Regions from separate parts of the Homo sapiens genome. Here regions 2 and 3 are each linked to region 1. The links are contacts of gene promoters, found by promoter capture Hi-C in blood cells and fetal thymus (Javierre and others, 2016). All regions are on one chromosome and are shown on one strand. The core of a region is centred on a gene start or on the middle of the fragment in contact, and the rest is flanking DNA. Distances in the headings are between cores, read along the strand shown. Region 1 holds the start of ZNF23 (zinc finger protein 23). Region 2 overlaps TXNL4B (thioredoxin like 4B). Region 3 overlaps DHODH (dihydroorotate dehydrogenase (quinone)).

Region 1 (4,132 bases), core at 692-3,191:
CCCAAGGGGATAGTTTTTTTTTTTAAATACGATTCCAGGTTTTTTCCTGTTATGACATTATATAGATTTTCTACATAATCCTTGATTACTTTTACCTAATTAAACCAAGATGGCCAGTGAAGAACTAACTCTCACAAAACACTGAGCTCAGATGTGTCATGAGCAAATTCTTTCAATGTTTCGGAAATGAGTAATTCTAACACTATGTAAACCGTAGCAGAGCACAGCAAAGTAAGTTTCCCAATTCTTTTTATGGTGCCAGCACAATACTGATGCAAAAACTACAGACCAGTCTCATTTATGAATTCTAATGCAAAAATTCTATCAAGGAATAGACTCCAATAGTTCATTAAATACATCATGAGTAAGTAGGATTATCCCACGAAGATACTAATTAGTATATTTTTCACATTAATAAATCAAAGAAAGATAAACACACTGTCCATCTCAACAGATGCCAAAGATGTTTAACATAATTCAACATTTGTGCCTAATTTTAAAAACTTACACACTAGAGAAACTCTCATATGTAGGAAGTACGTACAAAAATATTATCAGCACATTTTAATAACAAAACACTGAAAACAACCCACATGTCCATTGAAAATACATCGATAAATTTTCATACAGTTTTTACAATGGAACATTACCCAGAAGCTACACACAGAATGAATTTGGAAACTTAACATTGAATTATGCGAGTCCCAGATGACTTATACACACAATGGTGCCATTTATATGAAGCTCAAAAAAAAAATTTAAGTACATTGCTTACAGATACATGCATATGTAATTATTTTTTAAAATAACAGGGCTACAATTAACACAAAAGTCAATATAACTGTTACCTCTAGGGGTTGGAGGCTGGGAGTTGGGTTGAGGAGGAGGAACACATTGATAAATTCAGCAGTACTGGCAATCTTCTCTTTCTTAATTGGGTGGTGTGTTCATGGATGTTTACTACTATATATGTAACATATAAATATATATTTTAAATAAATATATAAACCAGCAAGGATGGGGTGAAATTGAGGACCCAAAATGTAATACAAAGAACAGCCAATGTGCTTAACTATACTACAGTGAACATAACCACACTTAAGTGGTAGGAAAGAAAAGGGGTAAGCAACTTTGGAAAACAGTATTTTGACTAAATACCATAAGAGTAAAGACAAAAAGACCTGTATCCAAGTACTGTACTTTAGGTAGTAAATTTGCTTTTCATGGGGGTATGAATTAGCGATTCTGAGACTACTAAATATATTCTAAAACTGAGTGAATTCGTAATTACGTTGTAGAAGTCATTCCCAGGTCACTGTCAACCCTGAGCCGAGAGAAGCAGGGCTGAGTTACCTTTTGGGACTGACACTGCTCCAGGAGACAATGTCCTCCAAAAGCCGGGCTGCTTCTGCTGCCGGGTGACTGGGAGGGGCTCTGCGCTCCCACTCGGCCCTAATTCATGACCCTATGTCAGGAGCCTGGGAGCACACGGTCCATACTCGGGATGCACATAGGTTAATGTTCCTGCCAGACCTCAGCATGTCAAAAGACTTGTGGTATCACCTCGGGCCGCTTCACGCCCGCAAATATTCCATCTTTTAGCTGCACCGACACATCTTCCCCCGTCGACCAAGTGCTAAATGCTCAGGGCCTCGTGGCTGGGACAGCAACGTGCGTTTCCCCTTCCAATGGGCGCAAGCTATTGAGCCACAAAGACCAAAGCTGGAGTCGAGGAGCGCGGAAGAGCACCCCGGGCCGCCGCCCTGCTCCCTCTCCCAGCCTGGGCCTCCTGGCAGCGTAGGCCACGGGAGACCCTGCAGCACCCAGGGTGGGAGTGCGTCTCAACCGGACCCAGAGCCTGGGGGACAGGGCACGGCACACAGCGCCCGGAGCCCTGCACTCACCTCCGTAGCGGACTGCTCCCCGGCGCTGCCGGAAGTGCGTCACCAGGCGGCCGGGCCTCTCTAGGAGCAAGGTCGCTGCGCCTCGGTGGTGGTCACGCCCGGCCAGCTGTGGCCGCATCCCTGTCGGCTAGCTCGGGTCTGGCCCACGGTGACTGTTACCCCTGGGGAATGGGGCAGGTAAGAATCAGAGCCAAGCGGGGACCCAGCCCGGGGAGGTGAAGCTGCAGGTGCAGCCACGTGTGGGAGTCTTGGAAATGGACCAGTGGATGGCGCGCTGTCACACCCAATGCCCCCTTTTTCTAACAAATAGTTTGTAATGTCCATCTTATTCTCCTGACCTGATATTCATATATAATGGCCTAGAAAATCATACATAACATACACACCTACATATTAAAAACTAATGTTATGCCTTAAGTGTAATGAAAGAGAAAAAAAAGAGGACCGTCATCTGTCGTTTAAAAACACATACTTCAATGTGTTTGGTCTTGGCTGCTGCAGGAGACCTAATAAGGTGGTCGCCTTTACACATAGACGTTGTCTGAGTGCCACAGCCACAAAGCTGTGACTTACATTGTTGCAAAAGTCACAAAATTATGATCCAAAATGGCAAACATGTTTTCGTGAAGTTCTGAATGAAACACAGGACAATCGTCTCTTGATTATACAATAATTACATTCCTGGAAGATCAGTGTATGTTAAAACTGTGCAAAAATACATGTTTATCCAGAAAACAGGTTTAGATTCAGATAATTTAGAAATAGAATTTTCACCTACCTGAATGTTCAGCAAGACATTTGAAAGTGTGAACATTTTTTCAGTGGGCAGGACTGTCCTGTACATTGCAGGATCCTGGCTCCTATCCACAACGCTAGTAGCAATGTTACCACTGACACCAAATATAACAAAATACCTACCATAAAATTCCAAAATGAGCCCTGGGGGAAGGGAGACAGTACTAAATGCCACTGGATTGGACGACCCTTAAAATCCCCACCCCCTCACACACCCCCTAACCCTGGTAATGTGGGCTTTTCTTCCTTCCAGCTCTGATCCATCCAACGCTGCTGCACTGGAGACTGGTATTTGGCTCCCACTTGCCTCTGTGGCTTCTTATCACTCCCATTCATTCCCTGACTCTACCTCAGCCCTACATGCTAAAAATGCTGTTCTCTAAATCTAGAATGCCCTTCCCTTCCCATTCCTACCCTCCATCTTGACTGTTACTGGAAGTGTGAGCTCAAATCCCATTTTGCATGGGAAGCAAGCCTTCCCTCATCACCCAGAATAAGGCAGGACACTCATTTATGTGCCATCACAGCACTGTGTACTTACTTAATGGTGATAGTTTATTTATATGTCTGTCTTCTCTGGTGGCTGCAGGGAACAGACACTGTATCTATCTTGTTCAACATCATCATCCTCAGCTAGAGAATAACTGGCAGAAAGAAGGAGAGCAATAAACATTTGTTGTTGACAATGGTCCAAAGGCTCCAGCCCTAACTCTTAGGCAGAAGCCTACTTTGTGTGTCCCCAAGGGTAGGATATGTCTTATGCCTTGGACCTTGACAGTGACCATGGCCAGGTGCCCTTCTCTGCCTTGCCCTGACCCTGATCTTCACTGTTTTCCAAAATGAGTTCATTAAGAAAATGATTGGGCAGAGTAATAGCTGGGGATTACGTTGCTCTTGTCAATAAGTTCTGGTTTTCACTTCTTTCTAGGGTCAGAAATCAGGAGTGAGGACTTGTTGAAAGAAATAGGAAGGAATCAGATCACATAAATGCTGGCCCCAAATGTTTGCATCATAAACCCATTGCCTAATTTTACAGTTGAGAAAATAAAGCTCTCTAAATAACCACAAAGCTCCTACTCCTACTTCAGACATATCAGAAAAATGAGATAATAATGCACAAACCAAGTTTCAAAAGCTCTATGGTAGGTCTGGAGAGATGGAGATCAGTTCTTGTCTGTCAGCCCCTGTTCTTCCATTCTTATAAGGTTACAGAATCTCTAGCAAGGGACATGACAGCTCAGGGAAAAAGCACACATTTCCCAGCATTCTTTAAGGCAAAGTGTGTCCATGTGACCAACTTCTGGCAAACAGGCTGTAAGAAAATGTGATGCTGTGTCCTTAAAGACAAGGGACATGCCCTCCCTGCCCCCAAACCTTCATCGACCAGGTGGAATGTTGACAAGGGAGAGCATCAGAGCATCTTGGACCATGTG
Region 2 (4,132 bases), core at 469-2,968, 630 kb after region 1:
TGCTCAATTAATTATTTGAAGAGAACCTACAGTAATACAGACTGGAGATGGGAAAGCACGAGGGATGTATGAGTCGAGGAACCGGCAAAGGGGTGTGGGGGTGTGTGTGTGTGTGTGTGTGCACACACATGCACCCAGCTAGGGTAGAAAATAAGTACTTTTGCTTCTATGGGAAGTGACTTTCCAGTTCACTTGTGTATCAAATGAACATGATGAAATCAAGTTGTACTAGCCAATGTTTGGGAGGGTTCTGTATTAAAGGGATAAAGAAAAACATTAGAAAGAGAAGTTACAAAAATCACTGTGGGGAAAATGAACACCAATGACTTGGCTGCTCTGAGGCTTGCAGGGAGTAGACAGTTAGGCATCCCAGGTCATCAGAGAACCAGTGGGGTCTTTTCCTCAGGGGCCGGGTTTTCTACACGCAAGTCAAACCTCTTCTCCTCTGGGACACATGTTTCCAAAGGACTCCAGAAACACAGCACAGCTGGATTCAGGTACTGTGTCAAGATGTGCCTTCTTCTTCATCTTTGACAGCAATTAATGTACTAAATGTCTTGATAGAGAAGGTCATATTTGGGAATATTCTTGGGATCAATAGGACTTTGGACAATAAGCTTCCCCCTCATTGCTCCTCGATAGATTACTTCAATCAAATCTATGAAGTCTTGTTTGGTTTTGAAGCTTCCCACAAACTTAGTGTGATCTGGAGATCTAGACAGCATAGAAGAGAAACAACTGCTCTAAGAACTTTGAGTAATCACTTGTTGAAGACTTTCAGGATAAACAAAATGAAAAACAGCTTTGTTATTTTCTTCTTGTCAATGAGACTTCAGAAATAAAGCCCAACATTAATTTTTCAATCATTTTTTTCCATTTAGTAAATGACTCAACCCAGTGCTGTGGGCCACTAGCATGAAAGCTCTGTCATGTGCAAAGCTTTAGCTTCAAAAGCTATTGTAATCACAAAATCTATTTTTATCACTTCTCAAATCATCAAGCAGATTTCACCAAGTGTTGGAGTGCACATTGTTTCTTCGTTTGCTGTTGTTGCTTTTGCCTGGGCATTGTGCAAAGCCCATTCAATATTCATGGCCTTTTGAGTGGTAGGTATTAAAAAATTGATTTTTTAGAAAAGTATCTCAAACACCAGGTATGTTACTGTAAAAATTTTAAAGAAATAAATAAAATCACGGATGAGGCCAGAGGTCACTTTTCAGTGTCTATCCTTCCAATCTTGTGTGTGTGTGTGTGTGTGTGTGTGTGTGTGTGTGTGTGTGTATGTGCAGATACAAACTTCTTTTTTCCCAACATTGGGAATTATGTCATACAAATTATTCAGTAATATGCTTTTTTCTAGCTGACATATATTTCTTTCATTTGTTAAATGTGCATCTGCAACATCATATTAAAGTCCTGGAAGTGTAATTACTGGGTTAAAAAGTTTAAAAACTTTAAACTATTTGATACATAATGTTGAACTGGCCCCCATAAAAGGTTGTACCAAATTAATACTTACATCAAATGTGTTCCAGTAGAATAAACAGCTTTAAAATACTTTTGTGTTTTTTTTTTGTTGTTGTTGTTGTTGTTTTGCGATGGAGCCTTGCTCTGTCACCAGACTGGAGTGTAGTGGTGCGTTCTCTGCTCACTGCAACCTCCACCTCCTGGGCTCAAGCGAATCTCCTGCCTCAGCCTCCTGAGTAGTTGGGATTACAGGCACCCACCATCATGCCTGGCTAATCTTTTTTTTGAGACGGCAGCTCTGTTGCCCAGGATGGAGTGCAGTGGCGCGCTCTCGGCTCACTGCAAGCTCCGCCTCCTGGGTTCATGCCATTTTTCTGCCTCAGCCTCCAGAGTAGCCGGGACTACATGCGCCCGCCACCACGCCCAGCTAATTTTTTGTATTTTTAGTAGAGACAGGGTTTCACTGTGTTAGCCAGGATGGTCTCGATCTGCTGACCTCATAATCTGCCTGCCTCGGCTTCCCAAAGTGCTGGGATTACACGCGTGAGCCACTGCGCCTGGCCATGCCTGGCTAATTTTTGTATTTTTAGTAGAGATGGGGTTTCACTATGTTGGCCATGCTGGTTTTGAACTCCTGACCTCAAATGATCCGCCTGCCTTGGCCTCCCAAAGTGCTGGGATTACAGGCGTGAGCCACTATGCCCAGCCTAAAACACTTTAAAACAGATAATATTTCACATACTTTCAAATAAAGACAAAAAGGGTACACAGATCTAGATAAGTGGACACATCAACCACAGTAAGAAATGATCAGAATCATGGATGCACCCAATCATCAATATTAAGTATTGAGATGGTAATTGGATGGAGTGGAAGGCACTAAAGAGGACATCATGTTACTTATTCTTGACAGGCTTTGTTGAAGAATGATTTAAAATTCAATGGCGAAAAGCAGGAAACTTTGCAAGAGAGAAGCACATCTTAGTTTGCTAGAAGGAATGTTTCTTTCATAAATGCCACTTACCAGTCCAAAAGCTTAAGAAAAACTACATGTTTTGTTTCAAATGAAATTCCTGGGAAAATTTTAAGAGTTCTTTATTTAGCTAATATGGCTATTTTATATTTTATAGACTTATGGATGGTAGTGCTTTGCCACCTGTACTATTTCTTCATACTTAAGTCGGAAATTAAAATTTGACAAACCATGTGTATGCACTATTAAAAAAATAAATAAAATTTGACAATCATACCAGAAGCACTCTCATTTTGTAGCAAGGTTTTGCATAAAAAATTAGAGAGTGCGTCAATTGGGGAAACAGTACTGATATAAGACTCACAGAGCCAACATCACATGGAAATAGGCAAGCTACTGAAAATGCTTACCAAGGAAACTTACAAGGTTGCAATTAACTTCAGATCAACTGCACTTACCCATAATCCACTTTCATATGCTGCCCATTGAAGAAAAAGACAGTAGATGGAATATAACTGATGTCAAAATACTGTGTATAAACTGCAGTTTGGTCCACATCTACCAGGTATATAGCAGCCATTTTACTTAAGTCAGAAGAGGTCTTAGAAAGCTGCAAATGACGAGAGAGACAAAGGTTACAATATGAGAGGCAGCTTAATGTTTCTTCTGTGAAACTTGTTACTACAACAGAGTGTTTTGTTTGAAAAAACTCCTGGGCCAACAATGCAGCCCATGTGGCTCCCACATTAGACAAAGCATAACCCCATCCTCCAGAGTCTCATTCACTGCAACGGGGTTAGGAGGGAATCTTGGGGAAAACTGTATGAGGTTAGGAAGGGACCTTGGGGAAAACTGTGTGAGGTTAGAAGGGGACCTTGGGGAAAACTGTGTGAGTTTAGGAGGGTGACAGCATGGGAGTATTCCTGTCTATTCATTGTGGAGAGAGACCTAACCCAGAACTAAGACCTCTACCCGCCATTTCTACTGCTGCCATCCCGTGTTAAGAGCTGAGCATACAAATCCTTGGGGAAAACTGTGTGAATCTATTTCTTCCTTTAATTTCTTTCTTTGAATGCTTTTATAAAAGTAGCCCATGCTCATTTAAAACAACACAACTTAGAAATATGTTATGTGGATACTGAAATTCCCTAACGTCTCCTTCCTCCCAATCCTCCCAGAAATGAAAACCACGATAATTAGTAGCAGACACTTATATAACATTACTATGTGGTAACTGTCCTAAGTGCTTAACATTTGTTAACTCATTTAATCCTTACATCATTCTTATAAGGTATATGCTATCAGAGTCCCCATTTTATAGATAGGGAAACTGAGGCACAGGAAGGTAAAGTAATTTGCCCCAGGTCACACAGCTCCTGAGCAGTAGGGCTGGGGTTTGAACTTTGGCAGTGTGGCTTCAGTGTCTACATCACTGACCTCTGTGGTATTTCCTCCTGCTTATGACTGAGGGTAGAATCCTCTGGTCCTTTTTTCCCCAAGCTAACACATCACACCCTCATTGTAACCACGGAAATGAGGATTTGTACGCTCAGCTCTTACACGGGATGGTAGCAGTAGAAATGGCGGTAAGAGGTCTTAGTTCTGGGTTAGGTCTCTCTCTGCATCAGGCACATACTGGAGGCAGCACACTAGAAAAGATTATTTGCAGCTACAGAAAACTGAGTTCAAATC
Region 3 (4,132 bases), core at 609-3,108, 550 kb after region 1:
AGATCTGAAGCTTCTGTTTTATATTTTACACCCCCGTTACCTTGAAATGGAATATATGTATAATGTCTTTGTATGTATACATTTTTGAGAGAGTCTGACTCTGTCGCCCAGGTGGAGTGCAGTGGTGTCATCCCGGCTCACTGCAGCCTGGACCTCCTGGGCTCAAGGGATCCACCCACTTCTGCCTCCCAAGTAGCTGAGACCGCAGGCGCACCACCATGCCTGGCTAATTTTTTATATTTTGTAGAGACGGGGTCTCACTATGTTCCCCAGGCTGGTCTCAAGCGCCTGAGCTCAAGCAGTCCTCCCACTTCAGCCTCCCAAAGTGCCGGGATTACAAGCATGAGCCACCAAGTCCAGCTATGTGCAATTTTTAAAAGCCAGCATAATTAATACCCTAACTGGAATATAAAGGAGAAAATGTAAAAGTAGTTTATATTAATAATAAAATTACATGTATTTCAGTATGTAAATATTGCTATGACTCCCCTAGTGAGATAGTTGTGTTTAAGTCTCTACTTAGAAATGCAGGTACACAGGTGTGTTACATATCAGGCACCCCAGGAAAGCACTGTACCATTCCCGATGAGATTTTCTGAAATGGTGAACAATTCTTGGGAATGTTCTATGTGAAACTGTACAGTTGTCCCTCAATTTACAAGATATTTGTACTGTATGTGAAAACCATGTAGAGGCTGGGCACGGTGGCTCATGCCTGTAATCCCAGCACTTTGGGAGGCCAAAGCAGGAGTACTGCTTGAGCCTAAGGGTTCAAGACCAGCCTGGGCAACATAAAGAGGCTCTATCTCTTCAAAAAATTGGCTGGGCTTGGTGGCATGTGCCTGTGGTCCCAGTTACTTGGGGAGGCTGAGGAGGGGAGGATTGCTTGAGACCAGGAGGTCAGGAAAGACAGTTTGTGTTTATGTGGTAAAATATAGTTTGGCTTAGATAATATGAACGGATAATTTTTACCCACACAAATGTCAGAATGTTCAAAAGTCACACAGGAAATGGGGCAGTTCATGTCAGATAGTCTCAAGCCAAGAAGGATGTCTGACTTTATGGATTCCTGCCCACCACATCTATTAGCATTACCCTGTCACTGTAACCAGTAGCAGTGTCCACCACGATCACCCTAGGGGACAGTACTGTCCCTCTTTAAATTTCTGGCCTGGAGTCCCAGGACAGCCTTTAGGGCCTGAAGAAGGTGTGTAGGCAGAAGTATAGATACAGCCTCTGACTGTAGAGACCAGTGTCAGCGGAAGGCTAAGGGCGTCTGTTTCATGTGACCTGCCGTTATGCCCTCTGTGTACCTGGGTGTGAAGGGCTCAGGAAGGGTGCTGCAGCCTGGCCTGGGGGACCCCCCTAATATGCTCTTTTTTGCAGAAGCGGGCCCAGGATGCTGTGATCATCCTGGGGGGAGGAGGACTTCTCTTCGCCTCCTACCTGATGGCCACGGGAGATGAGCGTTTCTATGCTGAACACCTGATGCCGACTCTGCAGGGGCTGCTGGACCCGGAGTCAGCCCACAGACTGGCTGTTCGCTTCACCTCCCTGGGGCTCCTTCCACGGGCCAGATTTCAAGACTCTGACATGCTGGTAGTGCTCCCAGACACCCTATACATTAAATACAAAGGCGAAGGCTGCAGTCCCCTAAACTTCTCAGCTGGGACTGATCTTTTTGAAAACCAGAACCCCAAGTGAGCAGTGGGGATTTGGAATTCAGTCTGAGCATTATTATTTTATGTCATGTAATTAGCAACGATGATTATCTATTACGTATATGGGATTGTGTTAGGCGGTGTTCTTGTTTGATCCTCCCAGCTGCTCCATGAGCTGGATCCTGTTACCATCCCCAGCCATGGATCAGGAAACTGAGGAACAGATTAGCAACATAAAGGAACTCAAGTCACACAGCTAGGAGGTAGCAGGACCAGGATTCAAACCCACAGAGTCTGACGCTGGCTTCCCGCCCCTTGGCCACTGTCCTGCCTTGCTGAGGTCGTGGGTAGCTCAGTCTTCCCCTCAGCTAAATGGGGAAGCTGCCAGAGTCATTAAGCACTGGTGAGAGGCAGGAGCATCGTGTCCCAGCCTCACTCAGCCACGTGTTCAGCACACGGGCCCTCTCCATATGCTTGAAATCTTTGGCCTAGAGTCCCAGGAAAGCCTCTAGGGCAGGAAGAGGGTGTGTAGGCAGAAGTGTAGATACAGCCTCTGACTGCAGAGGCCAGTGTCAGCGGAAGGCTAAGGGCCTCTGTTTCATGTGACCTTCCGGGCTTAGTGCAGCAAACCGAATAAAAGAGTCCCCATCCTCATGGAAGCTGCTTCCTCATGGAAGCCTTGGCAGTTTCCTTTCGAGAGGCTTCTTACCAAATGGGAGGACATCAGAATGATGAGTGTGAAAATGCAAACAAGAAGCCCTCAGAACTCTGGTGGGAAGGGTCACTGTTATAAATTAAAGGGGCCTTCACCGCATTTTCTCTTCCTACCTTAGACTCCTCTTCACTATCTGATTATATGGTGTTGAGCAGACGTGTCATTTCCCCTGACTGGCCATGCTCACACACTAACAGGCACTGTAGGCTCAGAAAGAGCACTCCGTTAAGGTGTCCTCACCTCAGACTGCTAGTTTGAGAGCCCTGGAACCAGTGTAAAATGGGAGTGAATAATGAGTGGGGTGCAGAGATGGGGTGAATTTAGAAGGAAGTGCGGGGTGCCTGAGGGTGCAAGCTGTGTCTGTATAAACACAGATGACAGAGACAGGCAAACCTGACCTCTGAGGTGTTGTCCTCAACACCTCTGCGTGGGCCCACACTTGCAGCAGCTCATTTAGAATGTGACTCAGACTTTTTAACCGGTAACCAGGATTCTTGATTTCACAACTTTCCTGGTTTGGCTCTCCACCCTTCACCTATGTCAGGCATGTTAGAATCCCCCGGGGGTGCACTTGGAATATTCAGATGCCCTGGCCTGGTGCCAGACCAGTTTCACCGCCACATCTGAGAGCAGGACCTGAAAGCTGCCAGGGGCCTTTGTGGTGCAGCTGGAGCTGAGAACCACGGTCCTGGAGGAAGGCCCCTACACATCTTGCCTACCAGTCTCCTGAGGTGCTGTGAGCATTCTCACCTTCATTTGTTGCTCTTCCTTCTTGGAGCATCTCTCTTAATCCCCTGCTTCCAGGATCCGACCGTGTTCACCCCGGGAGGCCTTTGCTAGTCTCCTGAAAGGTCGCTGGAGCCCATCAGTCAGTTCTGCCCAGCTGAACATCTTCCTTCCTCTGGTTCCCCGTGGGAGGCTGGGGGACGTGGCTGGGGCTTCTTGCCAGCCCGGATGAGGAGGGACACAGCTGGAGCTGATGTTTATTAAGCTGATTAAAGGGTTTTGCTGCTTGACACGCCTTGGTTTCAGGGAAGCACTATCTAGGGCCTGACACCAGCGAGCTACTCCCTCCCACCAAGGCTAGTTGATAAGAAGGTATGAACCTTAACCACAATTGGAAAAGACAGTGCTCGTCTCCGCTTCAACCCACGGTGGAAACACCATTTCTCCCCCCAGGCTTGCTAATAATAAAGCCCCGTGGTTTTCAAACTCTAGCTGGTGTCACAGTCCCCTGGAGAGCCAGCACTGTTAAAAATAGTTCCCCCAGTGCTCCATTCCACCCCCAAAGATTTTGACCTTGGGGGTGGGCCCTGGGATCTGAGGTTTCACAAGCTTCCCAGGTCATTCTGATGTAGCTGTGCCAGGAACCATGCTTTGAGAAATACCGGGATAGCCTTAGCGTGCCTCTGACTTTGTCTTCCTCTTCCCAGGAAGTGAGAGTTCTGGGCCATAAATTCCGAAATCCAGTAGGAATTGCTGCAGGATTTGACAAGCATGGGGAAGCCGTGGACGGACTTTATAAGATGGGCTTTGGTTTTGTTGAGATAGGAAGTGTGACTCCAAAACCTCAGGAAGGAAACCCTAGACCCAGAGTCTTCCGCCTCCCTGAGGACCAAGCTGTCATTAACAGGTAGGTGAGCGGCCCAGAGTTAACGGGGGATGCCCTCTTTCCAGCTGGGGGCGTTCAGAGATATAAGATCTGCCTCTGTTTTTTTTCTCTCATACAATGTGGACATTCTTCTGTCATTTGGAA

The links. Contacts are between HindIII fragments. The CHiCAGO score rates a contact against its expected background, and 5 or more counts as called.
Region 2: a fragment that was not itself captured here is called in contact with the fragment with the promoter of ZNF23 in region 1 in 1 of 17 cell types (total CD8 T cells); the score reaches 5.0 in total CD8 T cells.
Region 3: a fragment that was not itself captured here is called in contact with the fragment with the promoter of ZNF23 in region 1 in 1 of 17 cell types (naive CD4 T cells); the score reaches 5.4 in naive CD4 T cells.

The regions. Positions count from the first base shown.
Region 1 is chr16:71,460,306-71,464,437 of GRCh38, forward strand. ZNF23 (zinc finger protein 23) reads right to left here and starts at 1,942. Exons shown (of 5, transcript NM_001381984.1): 1 at 1,905-1,942. LOC124903709 (a long non-coding RNA gene) reads left to right here and starts at 2,007. Exons shown (of 2, transcript XR_007065105.1): 1 at 2,007-2,987; 2 at 3,628-4,132. RefSeq lists enhancers at 1,541-1,630, 1,901-2,060. The HindIII fragment of the contact is 7,082 bases long and covers 1-4,132 here.
Region 2 is chr16:72,086,089-72,090,220 of GRCh38, forward strand. It overlaps TXNL4B (thioredoxin like 4B), which reads right to left. Exons shown (of 4, transcript NM_017853.3): 3 at 2,899-3,050; 4 at 1-714. The coding sequence ends at 549. Among named protein-coding and RNA genes, the nearest start is that of TXNL4B, 5.5 kb to the right of the region's middle. The HindIII fragment of the contact is 1,563 bases long and covers 938-2,500 here.
Region 3 is chr16:72,010,664-72,014,795 of GRCh38, forward strand. DHODH (dihydroorotate dehydrogenase (quinone)) reads left to right here. Exons shown (of 9, transcript NM_001361.5): 2 at 1,387-1,599; 3 at 3,810-4,009. Among named protein-coding and RNA genes, the nearest start is that of DHODH, 4.0 kb to the left of the region's middle. The HindIII fragment of the contact is 3,701 bases long and covers 9-3,709 here.